Regions from separate parts of the Homo sapiens genome. Here region 2 is linked to region 1. The links are contacts of gene promoters, found by promoter capture Hi-C in human tissues and cell types (Jung and others, 2019). All regions are on one chromosome and are shown on one strand. Each heading gives the region's core, a stretch centred on a gene start or on the middle of the fragment in contact. The rest is flanking DNA. Distances are from core to core; before and after follow the strand shown.

What was found. The method cuts DNA at HindIII sites, captures the fragments that hold promoters and counts their contacts. A contact is called where the count stands out against the background at its distance.
Region 2: a contact is called between the fragment with the promoter of AKR7A3 here and the fragment with the promoter of CAPZB in region 1, in 1 of the 25 tissues and cell types used here (ovary).

The regions. Positions count from the first base shown.
Region 1 is chr1:19,482,630-19,490,483 of GRCh38, reverse strand. CAPZB (capping actin protein of muscle Z-line subunit beta) reads left to right here and starts at 4,945. Exons shown (of 9, transcript NM_004930.5): 1 at 4,945-5,048. The coding sequence starts at 5,046. It also overlaps a transcript of LOC105376819 not described here. RefSeq lists enhancers at 2,602-3,109, 5,143-5,651, 5,652-6,159, 6,160-6,668 and silencers at 4,369-5,098, 5,129-5,238. The HindIII fragment of the contact is 6,884 bases long and covers 888-7,771 here.
Region 2 is chr1:19,284,329-19,292,182 of GRCh38, reverse strand. AKR7A3 (aldo-keto reductase family 7 member A3) reads left to right here and starts at 3,413. Exons shown (of 7, transcript NM_012067.3): 1 at 3,413-3,687; 2 at 5,811-5,998; 3 at 6,191-6,295; 4 at 7,069-7,165; 5 at 7,398-7,497. The coding sequence starts at 3,474. It overlaps LOC124903867 (a long non-coding RNA gene), which reads right to left and starts at 4,123. Exons shown (of 3, transcript XR_007065521.1): 1 at 3,823-4,123. RefSeq lists enhancers at 2,536-3,357, 3,358-4,180, 7,681-7,854. The HindIII fragment of the contact is 16,987 bases long and covers 1-7,854 here.

The DNA.
Region 1 (7,854 bases), core at 3,696-6,195:
AATTTTAAAATAAACAAAATTTATAGTGCCTGCATACCAATTCACAACCCCTTGTAGATGACCATGTTTAATGCCATGTGTCTCCATGCTCATAGCAATAGCTGATGGATCTAGGGGCAGGATCTGAGCAGTGGGCAGCCAATCTGTGGAGTGACCTGTCCAGTGAATGAACTTTCCTTCAGGCTTGGCCTCCATCCCTTGGTATCCAAGAAGGACACCACCTTTTCTTGGTCCTGTTCCTGCCTCGCGGGTCATTCCTTCTCAGTCTTTCTGCTGGTTCCTCTTTATCTTCATGACCTCTTCTCTCTACATTCACCCACAAAGTGAGTTCACCAAGATGTCTGTGCTTTCAAGTATCTTTACATGCCATTTACTAGCTGACAGTTCTCATAAGTTTATCACAGCTCTAACTTCTTCCCCCAACTCCAAACTTCCATATCTAATTACTTATTTGATATCTCCATTTATTTATTTTTATTTTTATTTTTTGAGATGGAGTATCACTCTGTTACCCAGCCTGGAGTGCAGTGGTGCAATCTCTGCTCACTGCATCCTCCACCTCTGGGTTCAAGTGATTCTCCTGGCTCAGCCTCCTGAGTAGCTGGGATTACAGGCATGTGCCACCATGCCCACCTAATTTTGGTATTTTTAGTAGAGACAGGGTTTCACCATGTTGGCCAGGCTGGTTTTGAACTCCTGACCTCAGGTGATCCACTTGTCTCCCCAAAGTGCTAGAATTACAGGTGTGAGCCACCACGCCCACCTGACATCTCCATTTAAATCTCCAGTAGGAGGGGCCTGGCGCGGTGGCTCACGCCTGTAATCCCAGCACTTTGGGAGGCCGAGGTGGGCGGATCATGAGGTCAGGAGATCAAGACCATCTTGGCTAACATGGTGAAACCCCATCTCTACTAAAAATACAAAAAAAAATTAGCCAGGTGTAGTGGCGGGCACCTGTAGTCCCAGCTACTCGGGAGGCTGAGGCAGGAGAATGGCGTGAACCCGGGAGGCGGAGCTTGCAGTGAGCCGAGATTGTGCCACTGCACTCCAGCCTGGGCGACACAGCCAGACTCCGTCTCAAAAAAAATAAAATAAAATAAAAAATCTCCAGTAGGAGGCCAGGCATGGTGGCTCACATCTGTAATCCTAGAACTTTGGGAGGCCAAGGCGGGCAGATCATTTGAGGTCAGGAGTTCAAGACCAGCCTGGCCAACATGGTGAAATCCTGTCTCTGCTAAAAATTCAAAAATCAGCCAGGCGTGGTGGCGCACGCCTGCAGTCCCAGCTCCTTGGGAGGCTGAGGTGGGAGAATTGCTTGAATCCAGGAGACGGAGGCTGCAGTGAGCCGAGATCGCACCACTGCACTCCAGCCTGGGCGACAGAGTGAGACTCCATCTCAAAAACAAAAACAAAAAAATCTCCAATAGGCATCTCAAACATAACTTGCTCCCTCTTATCCACAACCCTCTCCTCAGAAAAACCCTGCTCCTCCTACAGTCTTCCCCAGATCAATAAATGGTAAATCCTTCCAGTGTTAAGCCAAAAACCTTAGCATCAGGCAAAACTATGGAGTAAAAAGATCAGTGGTTGCCAGGAGCTGGGGGAAAGGGGATGAAGAGGTGGAACACGGGGGATTTTTAGGGCAGTGAAAATATTCCGTATGATGGTTCTAACGGTGGCTAGATGTAATTATCCACTTCTCCAAGCCCATAGATTGTATAAGTGAACCCTAATGTAAACTATTGGGTGATCACGATGTATGAATGCAGGTTATTTGCAACAGATGTACCACACTAGTGGGGAATGGGGACAATTCAGGGAGGCTCTGCATATGTGGGGCAGGGGGGTATATATGGATTGTCTCTGTACCTTCCTCTCAATTTTCTTGTGAAACTAAAACTGCTCTAAAAAACAAAGTCTTGGCCGGGTGCAGTGGCTCATGCCTGTAATCCCAGCACTTTAGGAGGCTGAGGTGGGAGGATTGCTTAAGCCCAGGAGTTCGAGACCAGCCTGGGTAATACAGTGCGACTCAGTCTCTACAAAAAAATTAGCCTGGCACGGTGATGCACGCCTGTAGTCCCAGCTACTCAGGGCGGGGGTGGGGAGGGGCTGAGGTGGGAGGATCACTTGAGTCCGGGGGTGTTGAGGCTGCAGTGAGCTATGATTGCGCCACTGCACTCCAGTCTGGGCAACAGAACTGAGACACTGTCTCAAAACAAAAAACAACAGAAGACAAAGTCTTTAAATATGAAAAAAAAAATCTTAGCATCATCCTTGATTCCTTTCTTCTCATGCCTACCACCAATACATCAGGAAATACCTAGAATACTATCTACTTCTTGCCATCTCCAATGCTACTACCCTGGTCTAAGCCAGCTTCATCTCTCTGCTGTGTGACCTTGGGCAAGCTCCTTACCTTTTCAGGCTTCTGTCATGAGGATTAAATGGCTTATTATCTGTAAGGTGCTTAACAGTGTTCATCACATAGGATGTGCCATATCAGTGCTTTTTAAATAAATAAATGTCCTCAATATAGAAATGGCTTTCTAAGGCCCTAGTCCCCCTACAGTCCATTCAGAACACAGCAGCCTCATGATCCTTTTAAAGCCTAGGTCAAATCTTGTCATTGCCCTGTCCTTCAGCTCCTGCTCGACCTAGGCTAGCCACACTGGCCTCCTGTCTGGCCCTTGAAAACACACCAGTGCTGATGCAGCACTGTCACCTTCAGGGTTTTTACCCTTGCTGCTCCTTGTGCCTCTGCTATCCACACGGCTTGCTCCCTCCTTCCCTTCAGCTATATGATCAAATATTGCTAAGTTAGGCCTTGCCTGCCTACCTGTTTGCTTGAATTTTTCTCATTATCTCTAATCACTACCCGACACTGTATTATTATTATTACTATTTTATTTTTGAGACGAAGTCTCTCTCTGTCGCCCAGGCTGGAGTGCAGTGGCGCGATCTCGGCTCACTGCAAGCTCCGCCTCCCGGGTTCACGCCATTCTCCTGCCTCAGCCTCCCGAGTAGCTGGGACTACAGGCGCCCGTCATCCCGCCCAGCTAATTTTTTTATTTTTAGTAGAGACGGAGTTTCACCGTGTTAGCCAAGATGGTCTCGATCTCCTGACCCCGTGATCCGCCCACCTCGGCCTCCCAAAGTGCTAGGATTACAGGCGTGAGCCACTGCGCCCGGCCTCGGCTAACTTTGTGTATTTTTAGTAGACGGGGTTTCGCCATGTTAGCCAGGCTGATCTGGAACTCCTGACTTCAAGCGATTGCCCACCTCGGCCTCCCAAAGTGCTGAGATTACAGGCGTGAGCCACTGTGCCTGGCCTTGGACACTGTATTTGCCTGGTGGCCGACTGTCTCCCTGACAACACTCAAGCTCCACAACCATGTGGGTTATTTTGCTCATTGCTCTATTTCCAGAGCCTAGCACAGTGCTTGGCACATAGCAGATGCTCAATAAGTATCTACTGCGTGTGCCATTCTCTTCCTTGAATTTCTGTAATACTCATCCAATACCATTCTTGCGAGACTTACCCGTATGCTTTTTCTGCCAGTGGCTACCTGTGAAAGCTTCGACTTGTCTATGAGCTCCCTGAGGACAGGGCCTGGCTCAGGGAAACAATTCCTGTCATCTGTGCAGTTTACCATCCCCTCACAGATCGCCTAATTTGATTTAACCAAAGCAAACAGGCCACGGAGGCAGATATTGTTAGCAATCCAGATCTCTCCTGCTACCTAGACTAAGCTTAACAAATATTTGATTGAGAGAGAGAGAGAGAGATTGGGAGAGAGAAACTTGAGTCACTTTGTGGAGCGAGGAAGCCCTTCTGGGCTAATGGAATGGTTCTCTGTAGCACATTCAACAGTACTCATAACAGCTAGCATTTGTTGAACTTAATTTTTTTTCTTTTGAGACAGAGTCTTGCTCTGTCGCCAGGCTGGGGTGCAGTGGCGCGATCTTGGCTCACTGCAACCTCTGCCCCCGGGTTCAAACGATTCTCCTGCCTCAGCCTCCCGAGTAGCTGGGACTATAGGAGCGAACCACCACGCCCAGCTAATTTTTGTATTTTTAGTAGAAACGGGGTTTCACCATGTTGGCCAGGATGGTCTCGATCTCTTGACCTTGGCCCGCCTCGGCCTTCCAAAGTGCTGGGATTACAGGCGTGAGCCACCGCGGCCGACCTGTTGAACTTAATTTTCTAATCTCTACCTGTGTCATCCTCACAGATATTCTGTCTGCAGCTATACCGGCAGGGATCTTTATGTCTTATCTGTTATCTTCCGGTGCCTAAACAAGGCCTGGCACATAGTAGGTGCTGAATAAATGGCGTCAGCCCGAGGCTCCTCAATTCGTGCCCGGGCTCAGGTGCAGCGCGGCGCTCCAGATCCTGCCGTAGCGAGCGGCAGCGCTGGGCTCCTGCCCCGCTCCCGGCGCGCTCCCCCAGTGCTGGGTTGGGCTGGGTTGGGCTGGGCCGGGCCGGTCCGCGCTCGGCGGCAGTTCCGGGTGCGCCGCAGGAGTGAGCGCGTGCACGGGGTGGGGCGCGGAGGGCCGGTCCCCTCCCAGCCGCGGTGCCTTCCGCATCCCCGCCCGCGGGGACTGTGGGGTGCGGTTCCCTCGCCGCCACTCGCTGCTGCAGGCCCAGAGTCGGGGACTGGACCTCAGACAGCCAGGAGACCTTTCCGCCCCGGCCCGCAACCCGTGCCGGGGACTCCCGGCAGCCGCGCCGCGCAGCGCCGCGCCCCGCCCCGCCTCGCAGGCCCCGCCCCCGCACCCCGTCGGCGCCCGCCTCTCGCGCCGCTCTCCATACTTGGCGATCGCCGCAGCCCCGCGCGCTCATTGGCCGCGAGCTGGCGGCGTGGGGGGCGGGCCCGGGCCGGGCCGGGGCGGGGAAGGAAGGTGGCGGCGGCCCGGCGCGGGGGGAGGGGGGTGCTGACCCGGATGTTCACTCCTGGGCACCCGGGGAAGTGGAAGCGCCGGGCCCTGCTGCGGGGGGGAGAGCCACTGACGCCGGGACCGGGACCGCCGCCGCCGCCGCCACCATGGTAAAGGCCGCACGGCCCCCTCCCCGGCCCGGGGGCCCCTCCGGAGCTCGCGTCCCCCTCCCCCTGCCCATCCCTGGCCTGGGACGGGTGGCTTCCCGGGGTGGGGGAGGGGCGGGGTCCCGGACCCTGGGTGGACCCGGTCCCTCCCCGCCCAGGAGGGTGCCGCCGGCGCGGACGACTTGGGTGGCAGTGACCCTGCCCCCGCTCCCAGCCCCCGCCCTTGGCGCAAGCTGGAGTCCCACTCACTACCTCTGTGTTCAGGCTGGTCTCTCCCATAGCCCAGGCTAGACCCTCCCTCCCGAACCGTGTCCCCAGCCAGGCACCCCCTCGGTGACCCTGGCGTGGGCCCCCTTCCTCCCCCGGTCTAGGGCTAGGTCTGCTTTCCCCCGTCTCTCCGGCCCAGGCTAGGCCGTCGTTTCTCCCTGCCATGGCCCAGGCTAGGCCGCTGCCTCCCTCTGTCCCTCCCCCTTTGCCTTCTCCATGGCCTCAGGCTGGACCCCGGTCAGCCCCTTCTGCAGCGGCCTAGGTTTGCTTCCCCTCTTCTCCGTGGCCTCAGCCTGAATCTCCTCTTCTCTCTGTGAACTTAAATCTGGACCTCCTCTTCTCCGCCCATGGCCCCCGTCTGGACCTCACTGCCCCCTCCCCACCATGATCCCCTTCCCTGGACTTTTCGCCACTCCTAGCGTAACCTGCGTCAGCCCCGCTCGGTCCCCGCCCTGAGCCTCTCATCAGGGTCCTGCCCCCTGCCTGGTGCACGACCCAGGGTCCCCTTCCCTGTACCTGGGGCGCGCCTTCTTTGCAGCCTTTGGGGAGCGAGGGGAGCTCTCCATCAGGGATGGGGTGGTCCCGGTGCTGTGCCTTCTCAGTTGCCGCTTCTAGGGAGGCCGCCTAGGAGCCAGCGAGGGAAGGGCGGGCATCGGTGTGCCCAGAAGGCAGCGCGCTGCTCTGCGGGCCCTTCTCGAGGCTGCCGCCGTGGGTGCTGTGCGTGCGAAGCATTCTGCAGGGCAGGCCGGGGTCCACGGCGCCCGGGCCTGAGTGGGAGCCGAGGGGCGAGGATGGGTGGCCCACAGGACAAGGATGAACGCACAATCGCCCTTGTGAGGCCGTGGCCTTGGGGGGCCACCAGGCCCTGGATCCAGCATATGGCCTGGACACGATGCACCCAAGCAGGCGCAGCCTCCCCTTCCCTCTGAACTGTCAGCTTGCAAGGGTTGGAACTGCTGATTATGGAAGTCCCTCGGATCAGGTGAGCAGAACGCCTAGGGAGAGTGCTGGCTCCGCTCGTGGTGTTTGTTTTGGTAAAGAAGGCAGATGCTATCCAGACTTTTGAGGAACCTGGGGTTTCACATAGGCCCCCACAGATAGACCTGCCCTCCTGCCACTTGACCCTTCTGCAGGACAGGCCCAGCACTTAGGTTGGAAGGGCCAGAGAACTTCTTCCTGACAGGATCAAGGGATTTTTGGAGCATGTTTGTATGTGGACTTTGGGCCTCAAAGTGTTTTGAGGACCATGGTTCCTTGTTTAGTCAAGGGATGTTGCTGCTGAACGAGGGTGAGTAGTTGAGATGGGTTAAGCTTTCTTTTGATGCCTTCCTGTATGCTGATTAAAAACATGGGCAATGCCACTTTTAAGGCCTTCGGATTTGTCCAGTAACTTTGGCTGAAAACTCCTTGTTTGGGGAGGTGGGCCTGGCCCCAGGCCTTGATGGAGAACGACTTCTCCAGGGCAGTGGTGGGTGAGGACTTTGAAAGTGGGCTGAAGTTTCCTGAGTGTGCACTCAGGACAAAGTATAAGGCAGGAAGCAGCGATTCTCGCCAGGTGATGGGAAAGTGCCTCAGTCCCCCAGGAGGAGCACATGACACCTGAAGCTTCTCAGGAGTCTTGTACTCAGCTCTCATCTGAAAAGGCTGGAAAGGGTGGAGGAACTGTCTGCCAGTCACTGTGGTGTGCTTCACCTGTACAAGCTGTTTTCATCCACAGGAAGCCCTTCTGGGGCTGTCCCCATTTTATAGATGAGGCAGCTGAGGCTCAGGAGGTGGAGTGACTTATTCAGGGTGTTGCTCAGCCAGTGGAGGAACCACTGTTGGTCAGTGGAAGCCCATCTGGCAGGCTCTAAACTGTTCTTCCCATTGTACCAAGCTGCTTGTATGTCAGAAGGTTTAATGATACCGTTTGAAAAACATAAAATGGGATATTCAAACATGGCAAGGGGGGAGGAGCAGTATTTATTGCCCATGTATTGTATTTTAGATCCTTTGTATAGGAAATCATGTTTATAGTGAAATAGCTGTATGGTGATACAGGCATATTTAGCATGGGCCAGAATGAGCTCTTGGAGGGCAGAGATTTGTGTCTTGTGTTTTCCGCAGCTGTATCCGTGGGGCCTAGAACAGCACCTGGCGTTGGAAGAAACCACTTGGAATGTTCTCTTTGGCATGTGTCTGTGTCCATGAACTTACCTGCTTGGATTTCATATTCATTCTCTCAGTCACTTGTTCTTAGTATCCCTTAGCCTTGTAATTTCTGACTGCTTATTGTTACGTTTATCCCCTATTTGAATACTCTGACCATTAAGCCGGTGTAGATGGTTGGCGTAGGACAGAAGTGGTGGTGTGAGGTTGCATTGTAGGTAAATGAATTCAGATCACCATGTTTTTCATTTTCAGTAGATTTGATGGTAGAGAATACAGCTAGATCTCTGTTATCCATTGAGGGAAATAGTGACTTGAGAATCTAAAATGCATTTGACTTTGGAATGAATTCCATGATTTTTGTTGGCATGAGTTTCTCCTTCCCAGTTAAAAT
Region 2 (7,854 bases), core at 2,164-4,663, 200 kb after region 1:
CTTTCTGGTGTGGTTAATCTGTGTATTCTCTCTTTTATTCCTGATCAGTCTAGCCAGAGGTTTATCAACTTTAGCGATGTGTTTATAGAACTACTTCTGGTTTTACTGACTTTTGCTGATGTTTTTGTTTTATATTTCATTTATTTTGGCTTTTTTTTTTCTTTGAGATGGAGTCTTGCTCTGTTTCCCAGGCTGGCGTGCAGAGGAGTGATCTTGGCTCACTGCAGCTTCTGCCTCCCGGGTTCAAACGATTCTCCCACATCAGCCTATTTTGGCTATTATTTTTATTATTTCCTTTCTTCTGCTAATTTTGGTTTTACTTGACTCTTCCTTTTGTGGTTTCTTAAAGTACAAGCCTCGGCCGGTGCAGTGGCTCACACCTGTAATCCCAGCACTTTGGGAGGCTGAGGCGAGAGGATCCCTTGAAGCCAGGAGTTCAAGACCAGCCTGGCAAACATGGTGAGACCCCTTCTCTACTAAAAATACAAAAATTAGCCGGGCATGGTGGTGCATGCCTGTAATTCCAACTACTCAGGAAACTGGGACATGAGAATTGATTGAACCCAGGAGGCTGAGGTTGCAGGGAGCTGAGATTGCACCACTGCTCTCCAGCCTGTGTGACAGAGTGAGACTGTGTCTCAAAAAAAAAAAAAAAAAAAAGTAAATGCTTACATTATTGATCTGAAATATTTCTTCTTTTGTAATATGTCAAAGTGGTGCTATAAATTTCCCTCATAGCACTACTGTGGCTGCATCTCAGAAAATTTGATATGTCCTGTTTTTACTTTCATTCAGTTCAAAATATGATCTAATTTTCCTTGTGATTACATATTTGACCCATGGGTTATTTAATTTCTAAATATGTGGGGATTTTCCAGATATCATTCCATTATTATTTTCTATTTTTCCTTTTTCTTCTATTTGTTAACTTATTTACTTATTTTCAGTTCCCTCTCAGGCTCTAAATTCTGTTATTCTTTTCTTTTCTTTTCTTTTTTTCTTTCTTTCTTTTTTTTTTTTTTTTGAGGTAGAGTCTTTCTCTGTCACCCAGGCTGGAGTGCAGTGGTGCGATCTTGGCTCACTGCAACCTCCGCCTCCCAGGTTTAAGCAATTCTCCTGCCTCAGCCTCCTGAGTAGCTGGGATTACAGGCACACACCACAATGCTCGGCTAATTTTTTTGTATTTTTAGTAGAGATGGGGTTTCACCATATTGGACAGGCTGGTCTTGAACTTCTGACCTCAAGTGATCTGCCCACCTTGGCCTCCCAAAGTGCTGGGATTAAAGGTGTGAGCCACCGCACCCAGCCTGTGTTATTATTTTCTAGTTTAATTCCATCGTGTTCAGAGATGTACTTTGTATGATTGGAATCCTTTCAAATTTATTTATTTATTTATTTATTTATTTTTAATATGGAGTCTCACTCTGTTGCCCAAGCTAGAGTGCAATGGCCTGATCTCGGCTTACTGCACTCTCCACCAACCAGGTTTAAGTGATTCTCCTGCCTCAGCCTCCTGAGTAGCTGAGATTACAGGGGCACGCCACCACGCCTAGCTAATTTTTGTATTTTTAGTGGAGACGGGGTTTCACTGTGTTGGCCAGGCTGGTCTCAAACTCCTGACCTCAGTTAATCCACATGCCTTGGCCTCCCAAAGTGCTGGGATTACAGGCGTGAACCACCGCTCCCAGCCTCTTTTACATTTATTAAGACTTGTTTTATGCCTCCAAATATGGTATATCTTGGTGGATGGGCACTTGAAAAGAATGCATATCCTGCTGTTGTTGGATATTCTATTCATGTTGTTTATGTGGAATTGGTTCATAGCATTGAGTCTTGTATACCTTTACGGAGTTTCCGTAAATTATGACTGATAACTGTTCTACAACTATTGAGAATGGTGTGTTGAAATCTCCAATTATAATTTTGTATTTATCTACTTGTTCTTTAGTTCCATTATTGTTTTTCATGTATTTTGATGATCTATGCTTAGGTGCATATATATTTAGAATTATATCTTCTTTATTAATTGACCTCTTTGTCATTATGGTATGTCCCTCTTTGTCTTTGGTAGTTGTTGTTGTTGTTGCTGTTTTGAGACAGGGTCTCAATCTGCAGCTTCGACCTCCCAGGCGTAGATGATTCTCCCACCTCTGCCTCCCAAGTAACTGGGACCACAGGTGCATGCTACCACAATTTGATAATTTTTAAAATTTTGTTGTAGCGATAAGATCTCCCTGTGTTGCCCAGGCTAGTCTCAAACTCCTGGACTTAAGCAATCCTCCCTTCTCAGGCTCCCAAAGTGCTAACATTACAGGTGTGGGCTAGTATGTCACCCACTGTGTGGGCCAGTATTCTTTGTTTTGCAATCTACTTTGTCTGATATTCACTTAGCCATTCCAACTTCTTAAAATTTAGTTTTGTCAGTGTATGTCTTTTCCCATCTTTTTGCTCTTAAACTATCTCTGCTTTTATATTTGAATAGCTTTCTGGTATTTACCATATAGTTTGGTTTTGCTTTTTTATCCATTCTAACAATCACTGCCTTTTACTTGTGAGCATTTACATCATTTATATTTATGTAATTATTGATATGATTGGGTTTAAATCAATTTTGCTATTGGTTTTTCATTTGTTCCATCTGTCTATTGGTCTTTTTTTTTCTTTTGTATTTGGAGACAGATTTGCCCTCTGTCACCCAGGGTGGAGTGCAGTAGAGCTATCACAGCTCACTGCCGCTGGGCACTGGTCCATTTTTCTATCTTTTTTTTTTTCTTTTGAGACAGGGCCTCCCTATGTTGCCCAGGCTGGGTTCAAACTCCTGGGCTCAAGTGATCCTCCTGCCTTGATCTCTCAAAGTGTTGGCATTACAGGCGTTAAGTCACCAGAGCCAGTCAGTTTTTTTTCACTTAGGTACAGAATTCAATGCCAACAGTTCTTTTCTTTCAACACTTTAACCATGTCACTCCATGGGGACGCTGTCTTGAGCCTTTGGTAAGCCTCATTCTCCAGGACCACACGGCAGGCGCGACAGCCCTAGGTCCACCCCACCCCGTAAGCGCTCCCTCCGGGAGGAGACAGAAACCCAGGACAGCTCCGGGGCAAGGCCGAGGAAGGAGGGACGACGGGGCAGGGAGGCCCGAAGAGTCCCCGCCTTTTGGGATAGTCGCCACCCTTGGACCCCCTCACCCTTGGGGACGTTGAGGAGTGTTAAAATCTCCAAGACGCGAGTCACCGGTACGAAGCCACAGCCATTTCGCTGCTTGCTCGGTGCAAGTGCAGAAGGTCCTAGTAGCCGAGCGTGGAGTCGAGCTCGTGGGCGGCGTCGGGCACCTTCGGCCGCGCCCTCAGCTGCACCCGCCGGTGGGCGGGGCCCGAGCCCGTCTCTAAAGCCACGAGGCCGCCCGCTCCGAGCCTGGTGCTTCCGACCGCTGCGCGCGGCTCCTGGGCTGTCACAGTCTCCCGTTGCCGCCGTCATGTCCCGGCAGCTGTCGCGGGCCCGGCCAGCCACGGTGCTGGGCGCCATGGAGATGGGGCGCCGCATGGACGCGCCCACCAGCGCCGCAGTCACGCGCGCCTTCCTGGAGCGCGGCCACACCGAGATAGACACGGCCTTCGTGTACAGCGAGGGCCAGTCCGAGACCATCCTTGGCGGCCTGGGGCTCCGGCTGGGCGGCAGCGACTGCAGAGGTAACAGTGGCCCCTGATCCTCCCCCTGCACGGTGCAGAGCTGAGCCTGTCCACAGCCGTGTACCGCCCCGCTCTCCCTGGCCCCGGGGCAGCACCCAAAGTTTTGTCCCCCCCACCGCCCCCACCCCTGTTCACCTCGCAGCCTTGGGAACACCAGGCTCCTTAGGCACGTCTAGCTCCGGACAACTTTTCTCTCGTCTTCTCTTCTGTTCGTCTCTCTTCTCTTCCGGGAGGTAGCCAGCACCCTCACTGACGCCTGGATGACTTGGTCTTGCCTGGAATGACTTGGCTAGCCCCTCTCTGGAGCACAAAAAACACTGGGATCTGGCATTGTGCAGCTCCTGTCCCCACCTGTGCCCTCCAGGTGCCCTTGACGGGCCTGATCTGCAGAAATTCTGTTCTTACCGCCTGGCACTCCCTGGCACAGTCCAAAATCAGAGTTTGGACCCAGCACACTATCTGCTTCCTCCTTTGCACATGCCAGCCTGCTCGGGGCCCCGGACTTTGCTCTGAGTACCTTGTGGTACTCACAAGGGCACCTCACAAGGGTGGCAGTGCCCGGAAGCCTTGGCAGCTCCCTCAGGGGGATGAGGGATTGGGGTGGTACAGAGTCTCACTGCCCTCTCTGTGGGAGGCTCTGTCGGAGGCTATTGGAGAGAAATGGACACTAACCCACTCCAGGAAGCTCCAGTTCTAGAGATGGCTGGGGAGCCCAGAGTGACCCCTTCCTGGGAGGGACCCCGTGAAGAAAGAATGGATAGGAGTTTGCCAGGAAGAGTACAAGGGGCAAGGGCGTCAGGGCAGTGGGCATGGGTGTGGAAAGGCAAATGTGTTTTGGCAATGCCGCGGGTGCTGGAGGAGGCAGGTGTGGCCGGAGGGGAGGATGTGTGTATAGGGGCAGGAGGAGCCGCCCTCAGTCTGATGCCATTTGCAGTGCTTAGGCCGATGCCTGGCAGGCACATAGTGAGGGCTGGGAAATGTTAGCTGTTTGTTTGTTCTTAGTATTAGCACCATTTGCCTCCTTCCACTGAGTGTCTGAGTGGAGTCTTATTTCTCCTCTGATTCACCACATGGTAGATCCAGAACGAACCTGGCCTGTGCGTGCATCCCAGTGCCACGCTCTTTCTAGATCACCCGGCTGCCACTCAGTGAGAGCTCTAACCATATTTCTGATTTTTTTTTTTTTTTTGAGACAGGGTCTTGCTTTTTTGCCCAGGCTGGAGTGGAGTGGTGCGATAGGGCTCATTGCAGCTTTGACCTCTCAGGGCTCAAGCCATCCTCCCACCTCAGTCTCCTGAGTAGCTGGGACTACTACAGTAGCACCACACCCGGCTAATTTTTTGTATTATTCATTGAAACTGGAGTCTCACTTTGTTGCCCAGGCTGGTCTTAAACCCCTGAGCTCAAGTGATCCTCCTGCTCTGGCCTCCCAAAGTGCTGAGATTACAGGTGTGAGCCACCACAGATCTGTACCCTCTGCCTGGCCCTTATTTCTGATTTTTTTTTCTTTCCTTTTTTAATCCTTCTTTGTCTTCTGTCTGAGTCCAAGGTTGGCTGGCGAAAGTCCTCAGATCTGATCTGAAGTTAAATTCAATTGAGAAGCAGAGGGGTGGTGGTGGAATGGAAAAATTCCATATGAATAGTTCCTCAAACCTGCTCTTTGCTAGGCCTCAAGGGCTCCAGTGACTGCCCTCCTGCCAGCCTAGGTGACTTTCTAAGTGTGAAAAGTGGGAAGAGGACTCTCCACTCACCTGTTAGTCCAGTTCACTAGGAACTAAGATTCTTTTTTTTTGTTGTTTGTTTTGTTTGTTTGTTTGTTTTTTGAGAAGTCTCACTCTGTGAGACATTGTGCTGTGGCACAATCTCGGCTCACTGCAACCTCCGCCTCCCGGGTTCAAGCAATTCTCCTGCCTCAGACTCCGGACTAGCTGGGGACTACAGGCGGGCTCCACTATGCCCAGCTAATTTTTGTGTTTTTATTAGAGATGGGGTTTCACCATGTTGGTCCAGCTGGTCTTGAACTCCTGACCTTCTGATTTGCCTGCCTCAGTCTCCCAAAGTGCTGGGATTACAGGCATGAGCCACGGCGCCTGGCCCTGAATTTCATTTCTCTTTCCTCTCAGTGAAAATTGATACCAAGGCCATTCCACTGTTTGGGAACTCCCTGAAGCCTGACAGTCTCCGGTTCCAGCTGGAGACGTCACTGAAGCGGCTGCAGTGTCCCCGAGTGGACCTCTTCTACCTGCATATGCCAGACCACAGCACCCCGGTGGAAGAGACACTGCGTGCCTGCCACCAGCTGCACCAGGAGGTGAGGGGACCCCTGAGCTCTGGGAGGTGGTCCACTGCTGCTCTCCTTATCCTGATCCTAATGGTGAGAGCAGAGGCACCAGGGCTGTTCCAGGGTGGAGCAGGGAACAGCCCAACTCCCAGGGGCCCCACCCTGGCCTCCCTTTCCTGGTCTGGGCTGCACTATGTTCTGACTGGAGCCTCACCTGAGCAGGGCAAGTTCGTGGAGCTTGGCCTCTCCAACTATGCAGCCTGGGAAGTGGCCGAGATCTGTACCCTCTGCAAGAGCAACGGCTGGATCCTGCCCACTGTGTACCAGGTGAGAGCCAGGGCTGCAGAGGCCAAGGTCTCCAGAACTCCTGCTCATCCTGGGCTGTCTTTGCCCCTCTGACTGCCCCCTGTGCCCTCTGCATAGCAGCCACTCCCCTGCTGAAAGCCTGCAGATGGCTCCCAGGTACCCTCAGGATGCCATTCAAGCTCCTCAGGCTGGCCACTGGGCATCTGCTTCCTTCCTGCCTATCTGTGCACCTTGGACCCTTCCTTCCCTACCTTCCCCTGCACTCAGCCTGGAACAAGCCCTTCCCCCACCACCGCCCCTTCCGTGAGAGAATGGTTCAGGTCTCACATACGTGTCTCTTCCTCTGGAAGCCTTTCTAGATGGGCCCAGAAGACCCTGAGACCTCAGGTCCTTGTTTACCTCCTCATGATTCATTGCACAAATATTTGCACACCTGCTTGGTGCCAGGCACTGGTCACAGAACTTTCTAGTCTATTATGATTGCCTCATGACTTGATTATAACTGTTTATACTTGACCTTATTATAAAACCTTGAGGGAAGGGACCCTGTCCTTTTGGCTTAAGAATCTAAATCTGACAACCAGCCCATAGTTGGTGCTCATGAAAGTTGGCAGAATGAATGAATTTTCCATGGGCATAAGCTTCTTTCACCAGCACCAGTTAGAATAAGTATACGCCCAGACGGTTAAAGTCCTAGAATTGTTAAGGTCTGAAATAAGGGTTCTGGAAGGGTAATTTTGAAGTCTCTTCTTTTGACACATCCACCCTCTCCCCCGGGGCCCCTCTCCTTACAGGGCATGTACAATGCCATCACCCGGCAGGTGGAAACGGAGCTCTTCCCCTGCCTCAGGCACTTTGGACTGAGGTTCTATGCCTTCAACCCTCTGGCTGGTACGTGGAGCATTCCTGGCCCTGTCTCAGCCTATTCCCGACCCACAGATGCCCAGCCCAGGACCTGGGAAGCAAGGAGGGTTTGACAAACTTTGACCTCTGAGGTCAAAGACGTAAAGGCTGCATCTTCAGCCCTCCTGGGTCCCTGCCCCTCCCCTAGACCAGAGCCCTGAGGGATGTGGCAGCTTCTGGGGCACTCTAGGCCCCGGGGCTGATTGCTGCTTTCCCTCAGGGGGCCTGCTGACCGGCAAGTACAAGTATGAGGACAAGAATGGGAAACAGCCCGTGGGCCGCTTCTTTGGGAATACCTGGGCAGAGATGTACAGGAATCGGTAAGCTGTGGGTGCTTGGTGTGGATGGCTGGGGTGGGGTCAGCTTTATGTGGAATGAAGTCCTGGGCTGCTCCTGGGGTAAGGCCTTTCCTCGCTGCTGCACCTACTCCCCTGAATTTCTTCGGGAATTTCCAAACCCTCCATCGGTTTTCTTGTTGTCTTGGGACCTCCAGGAGGAAAGGAGACTCCCTGGACCTCGGGGTCTTGAAGTCGTTGCTCTTTCCTGAGCAATCACCTGCTAGGAAGGAAAGAAGGAGCTCTGGAGGGAGGTCCAGGAGGCCTGGGGCTGAGTCCTGACCCATCTTAGCGGCCTTTGTGTCCCTAAGGAAAATAAGAGCAGGCTGATGAGTCCTCAGG